Regions from separate parts of the Homo sapiens genome. Here region 1 is linked to region 2. Evidence: promoter capture Hi-C in human tissues and cell types (Jung and others, 2019). All regions are on one chromosome and are shown on one strand. The core of a region is centred on a gene start or on the middle of the fragment in contact, and the rest is flanking DNA. Distances in the headings are between cores, read along the strand shown.

What was found. Contacts are between HindIII fragments. The study calls those that stand out against the background at their distance.
Region 1: a fragment that was not itself captured here is called in contact with the fragment with the promoter of SLC6A15 in region 2 in 3 of the 25 tissues and cell types used here (H1 embryonic stem cells, dorsolateral prefrontal cortex and thymus).

Annotation. Positions count from the first base shown.
Region 1 is chr12:84,997,543-85,001,444 of GRCh38, forward strand. No RefSeq gene overlaps it. Among named protein-coding and RNA genes, the nearest start is that of TSPAN19, 37 kb to the right of the region's middle. The HindIII fragment of the contact is 5,883 bases long and covers 1-3,902 here.
Region 2 is chr12:84,911,111-84,915,392 of GRCh38, forward strand. SLC6A15 (solute carrier family 6 member 15) reads right to left here and starts at 1,689. Exons shown (of 12, transcript NM_182767.6): 1 at 1,413-1,689. It overlaps LOC102724680 (a long non-coding RNA gene), which reads left to right and starts at 1,727. Exons shown (of 4, transcript XR_945154.3): 1 at 1,727-1,794; 2 at 3,647-3,752. RefSeq lists enhancers at 259-807, 1,356-1,903, 1,904-2,450. The HindIII fragment of the contact is 2,941 bases long and covers 837-3,777 here.

The DNA.
Region 1 (3,902 bases), core at 574-3,073, 87 kb after region 2:
ATTACATCCCTTATTTTGACTGAACCAGTTTGAGCTGAGTTTTCCATTTCTTATTTTGTAAAAGAATGCTAATAAAATTTCCCTTGATTCCCAAATCGTCCCACCCCTTTGAACCAAATGAAGGTAACTGAAGTAATTAAGACAAAATAATGGTCATCTCTTTGGGTTAGGATTCCATGAAAATCCCTTGAACTCATATTTGTCACCTCCCATGTGCAACAGAAAGGATTTAAAAATAAACAAGACAACATCTATGACATTGATCTGTGAAATCTGCAGATGTCAGGATAAAATCACTTTTGCTAGATCCAGACAAAATAGGTCTGAGAAGGCACAAAGGAGATGGGTTCATACAAACACGCTTAACTAAGAAATTGTTTCCAAGGACTTTCTAAAAACCCCACAAGAAATCCTTTCACATCTTTCACATGTTTCCTGTTTTCCACAGCGTGTATGTTTCACACATATTCATATACTCCTATGACAAGACTTATTACTAGATTTTCTTTAGGACTGTAGTAATTCGGATAAGATGTTCTGGAAAGAATATTTGCCCAGTAATGGCATCTCTGCCAATGAACTGACAACAACTCTGTCTTTGAGTCTCTAGAACGAATAAACTCTGTTTATAAGTAGCTTATGTGAACTTTTCCCATGTTACCAATAAGAGCTTCCTTTTACCTTTCCCTCACCAGATGCACTTGTGGCTGGCCACTCAGTGCATACTGGATCCTAATACTTATTTCTCATTCCCTCAAAAACTCAACATAGTTGGACATATTTTTCTCTAATTTTTGGAGGGAAGGGGAGCCTTGATAGAGCCTAGAAACTAACAAAGGCCAGGATGGGTAACAAATAATTAATAAGGAGGTAGATATTTTATTGTCATTATTTAAAAAAACCTGAGGAATTAAATTTAAATAACTGCCTAGAGAGGTGACAGAATTGATGGAGTATAGAGCTGCAGACCAAGCTACTTTGATTTATATGAACTGTCAGCCAACACATAGTAGTAAATATTATGTGCTGTCTATGTTACATTCATATACCAATAAATCCCACCTGTTTATGGGCATTTCTATTAGTAATAAAAAAAATAGCTGTTAAATTATAAAGAATTTGACTGGCATTTGCCTCTGGTTCCTAGGAAACAATAAATTATTGGGATTTTCCAAGTGATAGTATTTCTTTGTTATTCACAGCAGGCTTTGATAATTTATGTTAATGAGATGACCCATGATGGTCATTACTATTGGCTTCTGTTAGCCAGATGATTTGTGATGGGCATAAGCCACTGCCAAAAAACCAACCATGTGATAAAGGTATTGGAGCTTTGACTCACATGGTATCAGCCCAAGTTCCAACATCAGGGGAAAAAAGAAAGGCTGGAAGTTGAATTCAATCAGGTGCTCAATGATTTAACCAATAATACCTACTTAATGAAACTGCAATAATGACTCTGGACATCAAAAATTGATTATCTTCCTGGTTGGTAAATACACTGATGTGGCAGGAGGGTGATGTGCTCTGATTCCGTAGGATGAGTTCATAGAAGCCTTGTGTTTCTTTCTAGGTTGCACTGTATGTGTTCTTCATTTGGCTGGCTCTCCTGACTTATGTCCTTTGTAATACAACTGTAATCATAAGTATAGTGCTTTCCTGATTTCTGTGTCCTTTTAGCAAGTTATCAAAACTGATTTAGAGTCATGGAAACCTCTGAATTTATAGCCAGTCAGTCATAAGAAGTATGAGTGTCTCCTGATAACTCTAAAGTGTGGCTGTAGTGTATCAAGTCAGGGCAGCCTTCTTAGGGACCAAGTCTTATAATTTGTGGAATCTGTGCTAACTCCAATTGGTCAGCTGCAGAATTGAATTGCAGTGCACCCAGTTGGTTTTAGACAATTTGTGCTGAAATGGAACAACAACATAAACACCATAATAAAATTTCAGGAACTAAAAAAATCTAAGCAAAAAATGTATCTCAAGTCCAAATCTAATACAATGATATTTAAAGAAAAAATAAATTTTCCCTTGGCATTTTTTCATTAAAGTATAGCAAGGATTTAAGAAGAATTTTATGGAATGCACTGAGCTTTTGGGAGACACTTTAATGAAAGATTTGTGAAGAGAGATATTTTTAAACAGCTTTTAAATTAGAGTTGCTGCTGTTCATAGCTCATAGTTGAAGACTGAGAGAATTGCAGCTGCACATGAAGACAGCCATACCTGAATTCCTTCTGCACCTTATTCTGCAGTAAGGACAGAGTACTTCCAAAACATTTCATATGCCATTGGAGTCATTTGAAGTAAGTTAGGTGGGAAGAAGCTTCTGAGGCTCAAGCAATTATGTGACTCAAGAGTCTAGAAGTGGATCCAGGGCTCAAATTCAGGTCATTTAGTTCATAACTGTGTGGTGTTTTTCTGCTATAACATACTGGCCTAAGGATAAAAATAGGCTTCCACTAAGTCAATAAACAGGGAACATGTATTTACATATTCATTATTTATTATCGTTTTTACAAATCCTATAAAGTCCACTTCTCAAACCCTACTGACAGTAATATTCCCTGTAAGAGATGGACCTTATCAGAAATCCACTAGTATTGTCAGGAAATAGTGTTGATTTAATGTCAGTTATCGTAATTTTATTCTGTTCTGTGCAGTTGTAATATTTTATCCAGCAAACTTCAACTACGCCAGAGTCAGCGTAGACTTAGCTACTGAAATCAAGAGTGAGAGAAGGGTGGTTGAAAGATGTTACTAATGAATCCTGAATCTAAGTTAAAAAAGAGATGAGGACAGGAGGTTGGTGTTGACAAATAAAAAAAAATTCTAAGCACCCCTAACATATCTCTTCTTGGCCAAAGGGACCCCAGAGAAACCTTGGAAGCTGAGTTCCAGCCATGATGGCATAGGAGGTTGGGCATGCCTCATTATAATCCCTAATTTGCTATCCACTATTAGGCTTTCTTTCCTAAGGGATAAAGAGAAGTCATCCCTTTCAAAAGACTCCATCTCCGATTTCAACCGACTGATTTAAACTGGTTCTGATTTCAACTGCTGCTCTTCCCTTTTGCAGTTTCAACACTACTGACCTGCATTCCTTCTTAATAAGAGACCAGCAACTATGGAGTGATTCTGGACAGTCTACAGAGGATCCACATTAAGTATCTTCCTGTCTTCTCTTTCATGTTTTTTAGACAGCCAAAAACTCCACCCTTGGACCCATGAAGAGGCATGAGGCCCAATTGTGCCTGTGCACGTTTCTCCTTTTGGAAATATTTATGACATTCATGACTCCTTCTATAGCTCATTGAATATGTATATGTAGCCACCCATTCAGCATACATCTGTCTTATTCTTCTGAGCCTCCTCAAGTGCCTGTTTCTGGCCTCTGCCCAGAGGCTATGCTTCCCAGGCTGTGAAAATGGCCACTTGCAGGCTGCAACCCTTTATAAGAAATAAAGCTCTGCTTTCCAAATTTATGAACCTGTCATTCTTTAGTTGGCAGTATGATTAGCGAGGATGTGGAGGGCTCAATAGACTGGAGGACTACAGAGTAAAAAAAGTGTTTCTATGGGGCACTTAGAGGCAGGGTGGAAGTGTGGGGAGATACCAACATATTTTTCTAGTCTCATTTTAAGCCCTCTGAGTTCAGAGGACCAAGAGGCCCAATCACCCTAGCTGGTTGGATTTAGAAGAAAATAATATAACTCAAAGTCAAACACTGGTAAATTCAGAGGTAAACACTAAAAGTATTTTTTTTTCTTGCAAACTCCGACATACCTGAAAAGCAAACTTCCTAATGCTGTGTCTGTTTTGTTCACAGTTCATTTTGAGGTGACTGGTAGAATTTGATGGATTTTTGTGTGAAATTATTCTAGACTTTTTAAAAGAATGTC
Region 2 (4,282 bases), core at 439-2,938:
TGGGTGGGTGAGGGGCTTGTTGGGGCTGTGTCTGCACATAATAATTCCTCAAAACAAACACTTTGTTGCTGGCACAGCAGAAAAGCAATCAGGCATTGACAGGTAGAAAATAGCTTTTACAGCATGGGCGATGAGGAGCCCCAAAGCAGCATATAAAGCAAATCCTTCATTTCTCCCATACGTCTTAAGTAGTGAACCGCAAGGATGGTGCAGACTAAGATTGGGTCTACCTATAAGATCTGGAGGGGAAAACGGCAAGACCAGAAGAAACCGTCGCAGACTTATTTGCATAAGCACCCAAACACTGCTTACGTCACTGCGCCGGAGTCCGGACCCCGCCCCGTCTTACTCCAGCCTTTCCCAGCTAGGGAGGAGGATGGAAAGGGAAAGCGGGACGCTGGAGAGCGCGAGCCTGGGGGCTTTGCTTCCTAAAACGCACATCAAAGGCTGCTTCTCAGCTCAGGAAAAATAATTCCCGTTCCCGCAGCCTGTGCCACTGGGTGGGTCATGCCTGTTCCCGAACGCCTCGGGCGTCTTGATTCATTCTTATGTATCCAGTTGGTGCGCTACGTTAGAGTGCAAGGATTTCCCTGTACTCAATACCGTCTTCTTCCCAGTCACACACAGACCAGCCTAGTGAAAGAAAGGTAGAAACGATCTGGGTTTCTAACTGCTTCCCATCTTCTTACAGTCCCAGCAGCACCACCCTCACCGCCACACTCTCAAATTCCAGGATGCGCAGAAACACAGGAGCCGTGATTTCTCCAGCAGCCACGTGCCTTTCGTACGGCGAAAGGCCCCCTTTCGGGCCATTTATCACAGGATACCTCAAGCAAAGGGGAACTGTGGTCACGTGAAAACACTCTGTCCTCGGTAGTCGCCTTCTGCCTTTGCTAAAGCGAACGGAAGCGAATGAGGAATAAAGCTCTCTGCTCTCCCCGCCCCATCGCCCACCTGCACGAGGTTTAGCTTCCAATTCACCTCGCGTCTCTCTCTGCCCCAACCCTCCCAACTTTCCTCTTGGACTTTCCCGTGTTGGACCCCACCCTTCAACCAACCCCGACTTGGCTTGGAAACGAGTAGGTCTCTGGGGATGCTGTGGGCAATTTCCACGACGGGAAGAAAGGATGGCGGCACGTTTCAACCCATGTGCTTCCCCTTACATGTGCAGCCTGTCGCCCCCCACCCTGATTGTACAGAGATGCAGAGTTAGACGGTTGCCCGCCCAGCCCAGCTTCTCCCTCCCAGGGCTTTTGAGCTGCCCTCCCTCCTCCCACCCCAGGACGCAGCGAGTCCTTCCCGGCATCCATCCATCAATTCGTTCCCGGTGCTGGTGCCCAGGCTCCTGGGTGGCTAATGGCGAGCCCCACCTCACCCCCAGTTGTGCCCTTAGCGTAGGCGCTTGCCATTACCGTCAGTGTGTCTTGACCAAGCGCCTCTTGCTGCTTCCACGTCCGGGCAGCAGCAGCAGCAGTCGCGAAAGGGTAGGGTCCAGGTGGCTGTGACGGAGGCCGAAGAGGAGCTGTTGGCAGAGAAGCAGCTTCTTGCCTAGGTTGGGACCCGGAGCTGGGTTTTGGGGGTCGCCGCCCTGCAGGCTGGCAAGGAGAGACTCGTGAGCGCCTGTGTGTCTGCCAGGGAAACAGCACGGGATACAGGCGCGCGGGTGCGGGTGCGCGTGTACATGCGTATGTGTGTGTGCGCGCGCGCGTGTGTGTATGTGTGAGGGTGTGACGGAGGCGCCCACGTGCTCGGCCCGCCCGTGTTACGGCCGCCTACCGGCTGCAGAGGAGAAGGGTAGGCTGTGGGCGGCGGCGGGGCGCGGAGGGGTAGCCAGGAGCGCAGGCTGGGCTCCGCACCTCCCTGCCCCAAAACCCATTGATGCAGCGGCCACTGCGGCTGCCGAGCGGCGTCTTCCCAGAGCCCGGGGCTGTGCCCGCCCGATGCAGGATGCAACTGAGGAAGCCCGCTCCAAAGCAAAACAAAACAAATTCCTCCAGCCATGCCGTCTTTCTCCAACCCACTCAAGCGAAAGAATGGACACCAGTTACCAGCCGCTGACTTTTGTCTCAGTGAGAATAATAATAGGCATGGTGCTACCTGGCACCATCTGAATATTCTCCAAGAGTCAGTAATGGGACTAGAAAAAATGGGTGACCCAAAGAACCCTTTTCCCTACCTATTCCCCCAAGCCGGCCATTTACATCTCTTGCGAAAGAAAAAGCCTCTGGGCATTGGCTTCTCCGTCAGGCGGTGGCCTCATAGCGCTCAGTGATTCTCGCCAGGTTATGAAAGGCCGTTTTAGAAAGCTGGCCCTCACCCACCCTGTGTTGGTGCCTCAGCAGCAGACTTTTTTCCAAGGGGTCTCATTACAAGATGAAGCCTGACTTACCTCTGCTAACAATCAAGGCATGCTCGTAATTAAGCCACGTGGAGAATTCCTAAAATATACACCTCTGAACACAAAGCTTAGCCTCCTTTTGAAAATGGCTGAACCGTCCCCTAAACAGTGCGTATGCTCTAAGGATGAAATTTTCCGTCCTTGAAACGTTCAAAATTTGAAAGAAATACAAAATGAACCTAGAAGCTAGGTAGAAAGGTTCAGTAATTTAGCAAAGTTAATTTTTCACTTCCAGATTATTAATATTACTCTTAAAAACTACTTTTGTGCACTTTTAGGCCTTTTAACAATCCCTTAGATTTTTACGGTTCGTATCCAATTAAGATTGAATTAAATTAAAAAGGCCATTGCAAACAGGTTTTTCATGCAGTGAAAAATCTCTTGGAAAGAAATCACAAGACCTAAATTTCAGGTCAGAACATTGCTACTAATCCTTAGCTTTTAAAACAGCCAAGAGAGTTTTTTCTCAGCCTCTCTTCCAATCCCAACTTTGAAAAATTAAAAGTTAAGAAATTAAATTAGATTTGATTCCCTGATACGCCTCCCCTGCCATGAGTAAATAAATGCTCTTTGATAGATGCGCCACGTGAAAAAATAAAAACAGTCAAAATAAACCTTTTATAGGACTTTTTTTGCTTTTTACTTCACATTTTGGTGACAGGCAAATATTTAATGTTGATATATAAAGAAACTGAAATACAGTACCAACATTATCAATAACAACTGAGAAAATTTTAGGAAAATAAGGAGAGCTGTGTCCACCATGATCAGGATTAGGATTATCTGTGGGAAACAAAGTTATCCATATGCTGGCAGAAATCGTTTACGGTAGTACCAAGAAGTACGAAAATTATTTCTCTCCCACGCTTTTTCACTAGTGTCTGATACCTAATTCCAATACATATGCATAGGTCACAAAATATTTGTAGAGCGATGCCCTCCATAATGACTGATACTAATTTATGTCTCAATGCCAATGAAGAGAAGTAGGAGAAAGCAACTATTGTTTTAAGCTTCCCACTAAGTACCTGGGGCTTAATAATATCTTATTTAATCCTCTCAACTAATTAATGAGGTGATTTTTCCTAATTTAGAGATTAGAGAGAGGTGATACTCAAAAAAAATTGCAAAAAGTCAGAAAACTTGTTCAATGACAGAATGGAGAAATAAATTCAGATATGCTGGCCTCAAACTTCATGTGCTTTTATACTATCCTGTAACCCTTTAACAAATTATCTATTTTAACAGGAGGAAAGGGTGGAATCTCAACACAAGTGGTAGGCAACTTTGAAAACAATAAATAGATGAAGAATGGAGAGACCTCAAAAGGAGAGTCTGGGAACCCTAGCCAAAGGTAAAATGTATTCATTTTTAAAATTTAACAACAATGAGTCTTCAAAGATTTAAAATTCAATTGCTAATATATTTTAGGGTAATGATTACAGAGTTCTTTCTCTGTCACCATAGGGCAAAATGGCCAACATGGGATTGGTGTGGGAGGAAGAGGCAGCACACAGAAAGGAAAAAAACAGAACTTGGAAGAATTAACTACAAGTTAAGGGAGACTAGTGCTTCCAGCCACACTGTATTTAATAATATTAACAAGGATTGATTAATGTTAACTATGTGTCTTTGCAATGTACAGAATAATTTCTATATTTTATGAATATATACTTCTTAATTCTTACACCAAGCCTGTGATGTAGGTCTAGTTTTTACAAAACATTGCCAGAAAAGAAACTGAAGCTTTGATTGTCCAAGGTCATACCGTCAAAAGGCATCTGTTAGATATTGTAAAAATAAAAACCTGCCCTATCTAAATCACTTTCTGAAATTGATACCTACTTTTAAGCAATTAATGTTACACTTATTATTTTTAAAATT